Linked DNA regions of Homo sapiens: all the other regions are linked to region 2. The links are contacts of gene promoters, found by promoter capture Hi-C in human tissues and cell types (Jung and others, 2019). All regions are on one chromosome and are shown on one strand. Each heading gives the region's core, a stretch centred on a gene start or on the middle of the fragment in contact. The rest is flanking DNA. Distances are from core to core; before and after follow the strand shown.

Region 1 (4,361 bases), core at 1,080-3,579, 310 kb before region 2:
AGGTGCACCAGGTGACCCAGTCCTGTCTGAGCAGAGGCTCCAAGAAAGTGAGATAATCTAGTAACACCTCAGACTCACCACCCCACCCCATGCCCATTGTAAAGAATTTCCTCAGGCAGCCATGAGGGACATGCCCCAGACTGCCTGAGCCTGTGAATGAGGAAAGGTTTGAGAAGAAAGTGAATGACTGAAGGTGTTATCTAGAGATGAGAAATGCCTTGGGTAACAGTGGATTTTAACTTTAAACACCGAGCAATGTAAATTCACTGCACCCTCCAAATTTAGAAAATACAGATACATATAAAAGAAAAAAAGCCACCTACAATTTGACTACCCAGAGCTGACTGCTGTAATCTTCCATGTTTCCATGCCCTAATTTCTAAAAATGAATTTATAGTGTATGCTGTTTTACTATTTGTATCGAGGCTAACACGTAGACAGCAGAGGCACACATTTTAAGTGTACAGCTCAGTGCATTTTTACATGTGCACATACCTGTGTAACCACCACCCAGAGCAAGTTCTAGAGCATCCCCAGCTCCCCAGAAGGCTTCCTATGCCCTTCTGAGCCAAGATATCCCTCCTGCCTCACCCAGAGGTAACCATTATTCTGACTTCCAGTATCATATGCTGTTTTTATAACGTGTTCTTATTCCTAGTCAGCACTACTTATTCATAAGTAGTGGATAGTTGCCACGTCATTAACTCATCATCATCACCATCATGGTCGTCATCGTCGTCGTCATCATCATCATCATCGCCAGAGCGGCCACTTGGGATTCTGAGGTATTGACAAACCATGCCTGCATGGGACTTTAAGCCTATGTTTTATAAATACCTGCTGTATTTTTCCCCACTATCAGAAAGCCTAAATGGCTGGCATGAGGGGTTCTGTTTGGTTCTAGCACAGGCTGCAGGGGTGTCAGCGACTTTGAGATTTTTTTTCTTCAAGGCCTGCTTGTGCCTTCTGTGACTTGCTTAGTTTTTTTGAATATACATGTGTTATGCTAAACATCCTAATAACCATTGCTGTGTATGTTCGAAAGGGCATCTCACATCCTAACACACGTTGTGAGATGCCCTTTCGAACATACTTTTGCTCTGGTGTTTACAGGAGAACAAATACTAAGGTGCTTGTTTGTCCCATTCCTCAACTTCTTCTTAAAGAGGAGAGAAACTCACTGGACAATTTAAGCACCTGGGTTTAGAGAGAGGTTCTTTTAAGATGACATTGGCAAGGAAGGAAAATGACTATTTTGATTGCTGGAATTTGTGAAGACACCAACAAGGAGGAGAAAAGCTCCACCCGTCTCCCAGAAATACCCTCCCACTCAGTGCTGAACAGCTGAGTCTTGATTATGTAGGCATTAACAGTGCACACTTGGAAACCTGCCTCTCTTCACCCTCTCTCAGTTTAGGTTTTGATTATTTTACTACCACTATCACTACAACCACTATGCTGATTGCTACCACTACTCTTATTATTATTACTAATGGCAATAAAATTATATTAAGTTTCCATTTGCAGTGTGCCAGCCACCACATGAAGATTTTTTAATGTAATTTTCAATTCAGGAACCTATATGAAGGAAAAAGGAAACATTCATTGAGCACTTTTTAATGCTTTGAGTCCTGTGCTGGATGCTTGACATATGACTTTCAGTACAGCTAAAAGATAAGTAGACATCAGGGAATATGCAAGGAAAGCCAGAGCTGGGATTTGAACTCCAGGTTTCTCTGATTCTGAAGTCTGTGTTGTTCCTATTCTAACACAGCCTCACAAAATGAGTGAATGAAGGAATGAATGAGTGAATGAGTGGACCAACCAACCTGGTACACTGAAGCACTAATTTTTAAGAAGTCTGGATTTTAGCCTGGGCGTGGTGGCTCATACCTGTAATCTCAGCACTTTGGGAGGCCGAGGCGGGCGGATCACCTGAGGTCAGGAGTTTGAGACCAGCCTGGCCAATTGTCTCTACTAAAAATACAAAAATTAGCTGGGCATGGTGGTGGGTGCCTATAATCCCAGCTACTAAGGGAGGCTGAGGCAGGAGAATTGCTTGAACCCAGGAGGCAGAGGTTGCAGTGAGTTGAGATTGCCCCGTTCCACTCCAGCCTGATTGACAGAGTGAGACTTCATCTCAAAAAAAAAAAAAAAAAAAAAGTCTGTATTTTAGATTGTGCTAGAAGGGAAACATTCTCTTACTTAAAACCCTAACTACATAATGCCCTGATGTACTGCTTACTTACTTTTGTGTCTCAGATAGCCAATGTCATCTGTCAGTGGTGACACAGAGTTCTGATTGTGAAGTGGATTACAAGTCTTACAATATTGGGTGTCCAATTTCCTCATACCACATATTTGGGTATGTTGGTATTTTATTTAGGATTAATTTTAATGAAATACCAGAATTAATAATTGCTTAAATAATATTGAACTTTATATTTTTCTGAAGTGCAATACATTTGGAGGTAGGCATTTTAGGGCTGGCATGCTGGCTTACAATCTGTTAGAGACCTAGCCACCTTTCATTTTTCTGGTTCATCATTCCATGTGTGAGGCTTTCCACTTTGCAGACCACTATGTGGCAAGAAGGAGGAAGACATAGGCAAGAGTGAACCTGCTATGGTTTGAATGTCCCCTTCACAACTTACATGGAAACTTAATTGCCATCGTGACAGTGTTACTAAATGGCACATTCAAGAGGTCATTAGGTCAGGAAGGCTCTGCCCTCATGAAAGGATTTAATGTCATTATCATGGTAGTAGGTTTGTTAATGAGGGCGATCAGCCCCCTTTTCTCTCTGTCTGGAGTGCTTACTCACTATGGGATGCCTTCCCTCATTTGTGTCATGATGTAGCAAGAAAGTCATTGGCAGATGCTGGTGTCATGCTTCTGGACTTCCTAGCCTACAGAACTGTGAGAAATAAATTTATTTTCTTAATAAATTGCCCTGTCTCTGGTATTCTGTAATAGCAACAAAAAATGGACAAAGACAGTGCCCCTCCCTTAAAGGAAATGTTTCAGAAGTCTGAAACATTGGAAAGGAAATGTTTCAGACACTGTTGCTTCCATCTCACTGGACAGTATTTTATATAGGGGATCCTCATAGTACCTACCTCAGAGGGCCTCCTTGTGAGGATCAAATGAGCTAATGTGAAAAACTGCCCAGAACAGTGCCTGCCATCAGTGTTTTGGCTGACGCTTCTATGGTCATACCTGAAATCTGAGCCCATCAGGCTTCGTAGGTCTTTCCCAAGGACTTATTTTAACTACTATAGTCTTTGTACCCTTCCACTTAAGTGGACAGCAACCAGTGCTGATGTTATCCAGGAAGATGATGATTGTGGATGATGATGATGAATATAAGCTGTAAGTAAATGGCAGCTGCATGCCAGTTACTGGGCTAAAAGCCTTCTTTTCATTATCTCATTTAATCCTTTGACAAACCTATAGTACCATGAAGTAGGTACTATCATAGTCCTTATTTTACAGATAAAAGATCTTAGGCTCAGCAAGCAATGGATTTCCTTGCCCAAGATCCTTCAGCTAGAAGTGGTAGGGCAGGAGTTGGAATCCAGAGGGGACTCTGACTCACACCCCGGGTCTTACTTGGGAGTATCCACTGCCTTCTATCTTTTTAAGTCTCTCTGCCTCTGAATTTCATCTCCTTTTGGAATGGTCAGCCTGGACATATATTTAACAATCCATTTTGACGCTACTATTTATGATGATCCTGATGACTACTGAATTTTCTTTTGACCTTTTTTTCTTTTTTGAGACAGGGTCTCACTCTCTCCCCCAGGCTGGAATGCAGTGGCATGATCATGGCTCATTGCAGCCTCAACTTCCTGGGCTCAAGGGATCCTCCCACCTCAGCCTCCCAAGTAGCTGGGACTACAGATGTACGCCACCACACCCAGCTAATTTAAAAAAAAATTGTAGAGAAGGAGTTTCACTATGCTGCCAAAGCCTGTCTCAAACTCCTGGGCTCAAGCAATCCTCCTGCCTTGGCCTCCTAAAGTGCTGGGATTACAGGCATGAGCCACTGTGCCTGGCAAATTTTCTTTGTTGAAAGCGAGATGCCCAAACCTCGAGCTTACCTGAATTAGTGATGTCTATGTGCACTTCTCCAAAGGAGTTTTTAATTTAGTATTAGATCTTGTAGATGCACACGCAAAAGAGTAAACCGAACAACCCATTTTATCGTCATTTAAATGTTCTCCTGATAAATAGTGATGACAGAGGTGATGATGGTGGTGGTCAAATGTTCTGTTAAGGAGAGCAAGTCAAATCATGCCCATCATTGGCTTGCAGTCCACTGGTGATCTGCAGCCAGTGAAGATTTTGCCATTTTCCCA
Region 2 (4,331 bases), core at 1,702-4,201:
TGTTGGTCAGCCTGGTCTCGAACTCCTGACCTCATGATCCACCTGCCTCGGCCTCCCAAAGTGCTGGAATTACAGGTGTGAACCACCACGCCTGCCCAGGGCCTTTCTTTAATTGTTCAGGTCACAACACAACTGATGAGGTTATGGTTTTCTTTAGCTGTAACCTAGGCCCAAGGGAAAAGTCTCATCACCTTGATTTCAGTTCCTCTTTCATCATTTATGAGAGGCTGACATCTGAGTGGAGCACTTCTGCAGGTAGAATTCTAACTTTTTTCCCTGATTATTTCTCCAAAATTTTAGAGCACTTTATAGCAGTCATCAAACTGGAAACCTGAAGACTGAGATTTTAATACTTCAAGTGAAATCTGTATTTTATTCTGACTTTGATACCAACTGATTGTGTGAACTTCAATAAGACCTAGGGGTTCAGTTTCCCTCATTTGTAAAATTAAGCAAAAAGAGAAAAATCAGATGGAATCCAGTGATTATACATCATGATCTGAAAAAAGTCAACACAATTGTCCCTCAGTATCCACTAGGGATTGGTTCCAGGAGAAACTGCCGACACTAAAGTCCGTGGAGGTTCAAGTGTCTGATATAAAATAGTACAGTATTTGCATATAACCTATGCACATTCTTCTGTATACTTAATCATCACTAGATCACTTATAATACCTAATACAATGTAATTGCTATGGAAATAGCTGTTATACTGTATTGTTTAAGAAATAAGAGCAAGAAAAAGTCTGTACATGTTCAATACAGATGCAACCATCCATTTTTAAAGAAAAATATATTTTTGATTTGCAGTTGATTGAATCCAGGGATAAGGAACCCACAGATAATAGAAGGCCAACTCATCATTTTAATTTCAGTTTTTTCCTATACATATGTAATTATGATAAAGTGTAACTTATAAATTAGGCACAGTAAGATATTAACAACTAATAATAAAACATTTATAACAACATACAGACAGTCTTGACTTACAATTGTTTGACCAGATTTTTTGACTTCACGATGGGTTTATCGGTATATTAACTGCATGTTCAACTTACAACATTTTCAGTTTACGATGGCTTTGCGATGGCCATCACCCCATCATAAGTCAAGGAGAATCTATACTGTAATAGAAGCTATGTGAATGTGGTCTTTCTCTCAGAATATCTTACTGTACTGTGAAAGCAAAACCAGGGACAAAGTAGGGACTATGGTACATTTAGGATAGAAAGTTGTACTGAATATTTCACAAGTGAAAAATATACTCATTTTTCTTTGTGTTGACTTTCCAATGTGGATTTGGTACAAAAAAATAAAAACCCTCCTTACCAATTGCTGGCTGGGTGCAGTGGCTCACGCCTGTAATCCCAGCACTTTGGGAGGCCGAGGTGGGCAGATCACTTGAGGTCCGGAGTTCAAGACCAGCCTGGCCAGCATGGCGACACCTCGTCTCTACGTCTCTACTAAAAATACCAAAATTAGCCGGGCGCGTAGCCGGGCGTGGTGGCGGGCGCTTATAATCCCAGCTAGGAGGGAGGCTGAGGCAGGAGAATGGCTTAAACCCGGGAGGCGGAGGTTGCAGTGAGCTGAGATTGCACCACTGTCCTCCAGCCTGGGCGACAGAGCAAGACTGTCTCAAAACAAACACACAAACCCCTCATCAGTTGCAATATTTAAGTTGCATTTAATCCTAGCAATTGCAGTCCTGAGATTTGGATAAGAACCAGAGTATGGTCTTCCAGGGCAGCCAAACCAAGCCATTCCATGAACAACAGAGATCACCCTGCTGCAGATGGTCCACAGATCTTTTCTTGTGCATTTCTTCTGGGAACAAATGCAACTGAGGAAGCAGACATATTCTAGGGGGAGAGATCCACAAAAATCCTTAGAGTCATCTTGCCCCACCTCCTTGTTATGGCTTTAGGTACAGCCCTTATGGCTAGGAGATGTAACCTTCCTCAGCCTTTGCGTCTACGTCTACAAAATAACAACTACCTTGCAGGGTGTTATTTAACACTGCGAAAGTGCATTAATAGGCACAGAAAAACAAAAAACAAAAAAGCAAATTGTGCCCTCACTGCGAATTCTCTGTATTCTAGTTAAAAACATCTATAGCTTGGGTGCATGGTGTCCGTGCTGGGCAAGAAAAGGGCAAAATAGATCATGACAAGCCTTAACATTTTCTCACTTCAGTTTCCTCACTGCAATTGATTTTTTTTTTTCTTTCAAGTCGGAGTCTTGTTCTGTCGTCCAGGCTGGAGTGCACTGGTGTGATCTCGTCTCACCGCAACCTCCGCCTCCCAGGTTCAAGCGATTCTCCTGCCTCAGCCTACCGAGTAGCTGGGATTACAGGCGTACGCCACCACGCCCAGCTAATTTTTGTATTTTTAGTAGAGACGGGGTTTCACCGTGTTGGCCAGGCTGGTCTCGAACTCCTGACCTCGTGATCCACCCGCCTCGGTCTCCCAAAGCGTTGGGATTACAGGCGTGAACCATCGCGCGGCCCCTCACTGCAACTGAGGGTAGCGCAGTGGCCGCAAGTTCCAGATCTGGAGTTACTAAATAGCTGGGTTCCAATCCCGGCTCTGCCACTTATTAGCTGTACGATCTTCATTCGTTTCTCAACCTCTCTGGGTCTGAGATTCCCTTAAAGCCGGGGTAATAGAAATGAATAGGATTTCCTAACTAGGACTAGACTTTCTCAATTTCTTGACTCAGAGGGGCAAGGATAGCCTGAAATGGAAAGTGAAGGCCTTCAGGTTCTTCCTAACAGCCGCTCCGAGGAGGGGAAAGCTACAGGAAGAGGGAGGAGACCCAAGAAAGGTCGGACCAATGAGGCAGCGGGCGGGACAGGAGTTCCCGCCTTTGGGCGTCGTGCGCGCGCACCTCGCTCACACGCACACTCGCACGCACGCACGCTGCGGAAGCGCGCGCGCGCGCAGGCCCAGCCCTCGTCGCCGCCGCCATTTTAGCTGTTGGTTCCGGCCGCACCGTGTGGGCTGTAGTAGCGGGAGGGGTGGGGGTCCTCCAGAGTTAAGTGGCTGTCCTCGACTGTGCCCATACAGCAGCCAGCTTTCTTCCTTAATAACTGCCCGTTCGAAGAGTGCGAGGATGTCCAAGCGGCACCGGTTGGACCTAGGGGAGGATTACCCCTCTGGCAAGAAGCGTGCGGGGACCGATGGGTAAGCCAGGCCGGGGGCGCGAGGCGGCAGCTCGGGCTTTGTTGGGGTCCTGGCAGGGAGCGGGCCGGGGCTGGCCTGGCCGAGCGGGTCCTGGAGCCCGAGCCTTTGTTTCTCTCTGGGCTGGGTTCACTAGCGGCGGGTAGGAGAAGCGCGGCGCCCGTTCGGCCCGGCAAGGGCGCGGGGGGTTGCGTGCGACGGGGCCGCTGCCCAGCCCAGTCCGGAGGGTGGAGAGGCCTGCAGTAGCCATGAGGGCGCCTCCTCCCCCAGGCCGAACCGAGCGGGAGTCATTTGCGAGGGCGTCGGGCGGGAGTGAACCGCGGACCTCGTGGCCTCGGTTCCCGAGGAAGGCCTGGAGCCGGAGGAGAGGGTGGGGGAGGGCGCGGTGGGAGTATTCGCTTCCAAGGGCAGCAGGCACTTCCCAGCCAGAGGGGCCGTGGGGAGGGCCTGGGTGGGGGCGCGGCCAGGCACTCCAGACGGGAAAGGCGGAGGGCGGAAAGTGAGAGCAGCGCGTGGATCATAATGTAGGCTGGGATGGGGGTGGCGGGAGTTGAGAGAAGCCAGCAAATAGGGAGTTCTCGGGGGAGGTGGGAGTAGAGGACCTGCCGGGAGAAAGGAAAACGTGGAGTAATATACCTGATGGGCTGGAAGGCTGGTGTTTTGGGGCGACTGAGTTTATAGTTTGGCGGGAGAGAGCGTGCCTTGGTCCATTCAAACACTTCAAAGTAGATACTAGCAAACTTCCGCTCTCTGCCTACGCTCCCGCCATCTCCTGTATTTCCTGCTTTGGTTAAAACTGGTTACTGAACATCGTCCCATGGGGAGGGATTAGAAGGCATTGTTTTTTTTTTTCATCATTTATTTTCTATGCATGTCCCACTTTTCTTCATAAGTAGCTTTTGAAATACAGGGATCATGTTCAAAACGTGTTTTTAGTATTTATGGCGAAACACCGCCCATGTGGAGGTTGAGAGTTGAAATACTTACACAAACTCTTGGTGTTCCAGATTCCTTTCCTTAAAGGTACAGAGGAATTTAGCAGTTAATTTAAGCAATTTCGTGAAAATCATTTCTTGTCCCTTGTGTGTTTTCATTGATGAAGTACAAAGACCTGTTTGGATAATTCAGGCAAAACCCACAAAAGCCCGAGTA
Region 3 (4,535 bases), core at 1,461-3,960, 260 kb before region 2:
CAGCAGGGCTGATGGCGTCATTTTATGAGTGACTGTTAAAGTGGAAGATTTTTATCTCTGAGTTGCCATTTTAACTGATGACCCTTATCTATATTTTGGGAAGCCCAGATTCTAGATGTTAAGTACGTTTGAAAAACAAGGTGATAGGAAATTACTTGCCTTGGATATTTTAGGGTAGACTAATTTTTCCATTTGTTCAGCTAGAGCCTTGTAACCCTATGGGCCATAAAGCATTTCCAAATAGCCTCCTGAAAGATTTGTTGCCACCCTGGCTTCCAAGCAGCTTAGCTCTCACATGGGGCAGGGGGCAGCGTTCTTGTGCCAACATGGGCGTCCTGTGATGGGGGGAGCCTGTGTGATTGATTACCTCCTGCTATCTCTGTCCAGTGCGCAGGAATTTCTTAGGCTCCCAAACTAACACAAACTTCCAAGCCAAACCAGATGAGAGATGTGAAAAGGGAAACCTACTGGATACCATCCCCTTCCTTAAAAATTACAGTTCTTAAAGATTAACAAGGTTAGAGGAGCCCTCTGGGAAAAGGAGGGCTCACAAAGCCACGCATTACCCTCGAAAAGCTTTGCACGTTGCCCAGGGCTCTCAGAGTGTCAGTCTATAAGGAATGAGGAAAGACTCAGGCAGTGCTGGGGCCACAGAGACAGTGGCAGCTCCCCTTGGTCTGCCGCAGAGGTTGGCCTGCTTCCTCTTCTGGGCGTTAAGAAAAGAGTGGATTCAGGGAAAGGGGATCAGGAGGAAAAAAGGGGTCTCGGAGAATTTAAGGATTAGTAGGTCAAACAGCAGAACTAGCAGAGGACATTGGAATCACAAAGACAGCAGTCCTTTCTTATCTGGGGGATACTTCCCAAGACCCCCAGTGGATGCCTGAAACCTGGGTTAGTGCAGCTCTCGGTTGCCATCAATCAGAGCCCATTTCTCTTCATGTCTTCTACCTACGAATGTAATGCCTTTTCCATCTTCACTGAGCACTTATGCACTGTGGCTGTAGCTTTTGTAGTTTGAGGTGCGGCAGCAAAACTAGCACAGATTTCTCTTTCCTTCTTGACAATTTCATGGATAGAAGATTGGTTCTTATTGCAGATCTTAGCAACCTCAGCATATGATTTTTTTTTTCCTTAAGTCGAGAACTTTCACCTTTTCACTTAAAAGAAGCAGTATGTGGCTTCTCTTTGGCATGTCCAAGTTGCCAGCATCACTGCTCTTGTGTTTGGGGTCATTATTTATTGTATTTATTTATTTATTTATTTATTTATTTGAGATGGAGTCTCACTCTGTCACCAGGCTGGAGCACAGTGGTGCAATCTCAGCTCACTGCAACCTCCGCCTCCCGGGTTCAAGCGATTCTCCTGCCTCAGCCTCCTGAGTAGCTGGGACTACAGGCACGCGCCACCACGCCCAGCTAATTTTTGTAGTTTTAGTAGAGACGGAGATTTACCATGTTAGCCAGGATGGTCTCGATCTCTTGACCTCATGATCCACCCACCTCGGCATCCCAAAGTGCTGGGATTACAGATGTTAGCACCGTGCCTGGCCGAGGCATTATTAAGTAAAATAAGGGTTCCTTAAACACAAGCACTGCAATACTGTGACAGTTGACCTGATACCTGAAATGGCTACTCAGTGACTAAGGGGTGGGTAGCGTAGACAGCATGGACCCTGGACAAAGGAAGGATTTGTATCTCTCCAGCAGGGCCAGGTGGGACAGACTGGGACACGAGATTTCATCATGCTACTCAGAATGGCATACGATATAAATCTTATGAATTTTTTATTTCTGGGATTTTCCATTTAATATTTCCAGACCACGGTTGACCTCAGGTAACTGATACCAAGGATTAGGGGGACTACTATACCCTGAGGTGTGCTCCTGAACCAGCTATTTGAAAGAAGCCTGACTTGTAACATTTTGCCAATGTCTGTGTGATAAATACTGGTACCATGACAAATGTCAGGTTACCAAAGTGAAGTCACTGAACTTGGAAATATTTGGACTCTAGGAAAAGATAGCTCCAGCCTGTCTCTGTGAAGTGGAGCAGTGTAGTGCAGCCCAAGAGGTCCACCTTTTAAGATTGTCAGACCCAGGTTTATGTTCTCGTTCTGCCAGTTATTGTCTGTGGCCTTTGGCAAGTCAGTTTTCTCTCCAGGCCTCAGTTTCCTCATCTGTAAAGTGGCAATAATAATGCCTCTCATCGAATTGTTTAATCATTTATTCACCACATCATTTAGTCCCCACATAATTGGGGACTTCCTACATGCTAATTAACTTTCTAGCATCTGAGGACACATCAAAGCAGCTGAGGACACATCAAAGGATAAGAAAGACAGGGTACTAGCTCCCATGGTACTGATATTCTAGTTGGGGAGTAGATAATAAGAAAATAAAATACGTAAGTAATTTCATCAGACAGTGCTTAGTCTGAGAAGAAAAGAGAACAGGACAATGAGATTTAATGATTTAGGGATGGACTTGCATGCAATATCGTTTGTAAAGGGTGTTGCATGGTGCATACCACCTAGCAAGCACTTAACAGAGGGTAAGTGTTGCTGTTGTCTTTAGCATAACATGCGCCCATATTGACTTAGAATCCACTTGTGCAAGAATTCCACCAGAAATCTTAAGATCTTCCTCTCTATTGATCAGCTATTTCCAGTGAACTAGATGTGTCCCCCCAAGTAGAGACAATGATCCTGGTGAGACACCTGGCATGTGGCAGATGGATCCCCAAAAGTCAGCCCTCCTGATCACCAGCCTCGACTTCGCCAGCATCAAGCATTATTGCTTTGGTGCCAAGCTCCTGGGAACTTTCTTGCATTTTGTGTGCTCCTTGTGGAATAAGCACCTAATAGGATATGCCAGAAGCGGCAATTCATGTTCCCACTGGGACAGATGGCAGTTGGTCTTCTTGTCTGTTTACTTTAAAGATTATGGTACTTTCATGCAGAGGACCAATAATACAGTGCGATGTATTCAAAAGCAAGGAAGTTTGCGGTAGGCAAATGCTCCTACCAATGTCACACATTTACACTTCCTGGGCCCCTGCTGGCAAATTTAAATTTAGCTGTTGTGATATTGCATAAACACAGGGTTTTGCCCTTAATAATGAGCTTTATGTTATACCAGCTGAAGGTCTTTAGGTACCTCTGTTTTATCTGTCATTGGTGCCGTGAAATGATAGAGACCTTCTGTGAACATACCTCTATTGACGTGGGACTTTTGGATGAATTTGGTGAGCAAACCAATTAAGATACAGCTACAGGCCAATAAAGACAGACCAATGAGTGTGCAAGTGACTAATTAAGGTACACTTCGTTAAAAAGGAGTGCTCAGCTGTGGATGTTTGTCATGGTCCAGGATGAGGGATCAGAGAGCTCTTTGGAAGCTGTTTCACTTTATGCTTCAAAAGGAGCAGAGAGATGTCCTAGCCTGCAAGAAACTGAAGTAAAGATGGCACTCTAATGAAAAGCTCTCGCCTTGGGGCACTATAGAAATTAATTATGAGGAATTACAATGAGTGAGAAGGGCCCTTCACCGCACCCCACCTCCCTGCCCTATCATGTCTTGCTCTACCTGGGATCTTGATTATGAACTATAGGCAATGCTCAGCGAGTCCAGCAAGCGGCCAGTCTAGTTCAGCAGTGTCTAATGTTTTATTCATAAGTGAATTGGATACACTTGGTCTTCCGATACCTCATTTGAGCCTGTCATGGCTTACATGAGCTCATAGTCTGGGTAGACCACGTGACCAAAACAGCATGGTTTTCAGATATTCATCCCATAGACTGTGGACATAATTACACTTCCTAGTGGAGAACTGATTCTGAAAGATATCTCTGCCCAAGACTTATTTTATCATACACCATATCCAAATTACACACTAAAATGAAAATAAATCAGAGCTTCTTTAAAACTGCTTGATGGGACACTAAAGATTTTGGCTCTGGGAGCAACATGTGCTGAACTATCTGACAGTGATTCAGGGGCTTCTTAGCTGTGTAATCTTGGGACAATTGCTTGACTTCTTCGTGCCTTAGTTGTTCTCATCTGTACAATGGGGATAGCAGTAGTACTTGCCTCATGGAGGCTGGTTCGGTCAATTCATTTCAACATGTATTTGTTGAGGACAGACTGGTCTAGGGCTAACAGCAAACAATATCAATGAGTCCCTGCTCCCATGGGAGTTTCGTTCTAGTGGAGGCAGATGGACAGTAAGCAAATAAATCATATTTCACAGATTCCAAGATGCACAGTTTTTCACATTTGGACATCTCTGGTACAGTCGGTATTGTGTAGTTACGACTGGCACTTTTTATTCTTTTTAGAGGTGCACAGTGGTGGCTCTTAAAGTTGATGGAGTCTTATATTTGATGAACTGCGGTATAATATGTCAGGAGGTGATACGTGCTAAGTAAAAAACTAAAGCAGGATAAGGGGCTAGAGAGTGCAGCCCAGGTGGGGCAGGGATGCTGTTTGTATCAGGTGGTCAGGGAAGGCCCTCTGCGCATGTGCGTGACACAGAGC

What was found. Contacts are between HindIII fragments. The study calls those that stand out against the background at their distance.
Region 1: a contact is called between a fragment that was not itself captured here and the fragment with the promoter of DHX15 in region 2, in 1 of the 25 tissues and cell types used here (lymphoblastoid cells).
Region 3: a contact is called between a fragment that was not itself captured here and the fragment with the promoter of DHX15 in region 2, in 1 of the 25 tissues and cell types used here (dorsolateral prefrontal cortex).

Annotation. Positions count from the first base shown.
Region 1 is chr4:24,891,416-24,895,776 of GRCh38, reverse strand. The region is part of intron 1 of CCDC149 (coiled-coil domain containing 149); the gene reads left to right. Among named protein-coding and RNA genes, the nearest start is that of CCDC149, 19 kb to the left of the region's middle. The HindIII fragment of the contact is 5,835 bases long and covers 1-4,361 here.
Region 2 is chr4:24,583,174-24,587,504 of GRCh38, reverse strand. It overlaps DHX15 (DEAH-box helicase 15), which reads left to right and starts at 2,951. Exons shown (of 14, transcript NM_001358.3): 1 at 2,951-3,182. The coding sequence starts at 3,112. RefSeq lists an enhancer at 2,513-3,052 and silencers at 3,233-3,352, 3,363-3,442, 3,643-3,692. The HindIII fragment of the contact is 10,024 bases long and covers 1-4,331 here.
Region 3 is chr4:24,845,304-24,849,838 of GRCh38, reverse strand. All of the region lies in intron 4 of CCDC149 (coiled-coil domain containing 149), which reads left to right. Among named protein-coding and RNA genes, the nearest start is that of SOD3, 52 kb to the right of the region's middle. The HindIII fragment of the contact is 4,984 bases long and covers 219-4,535 here.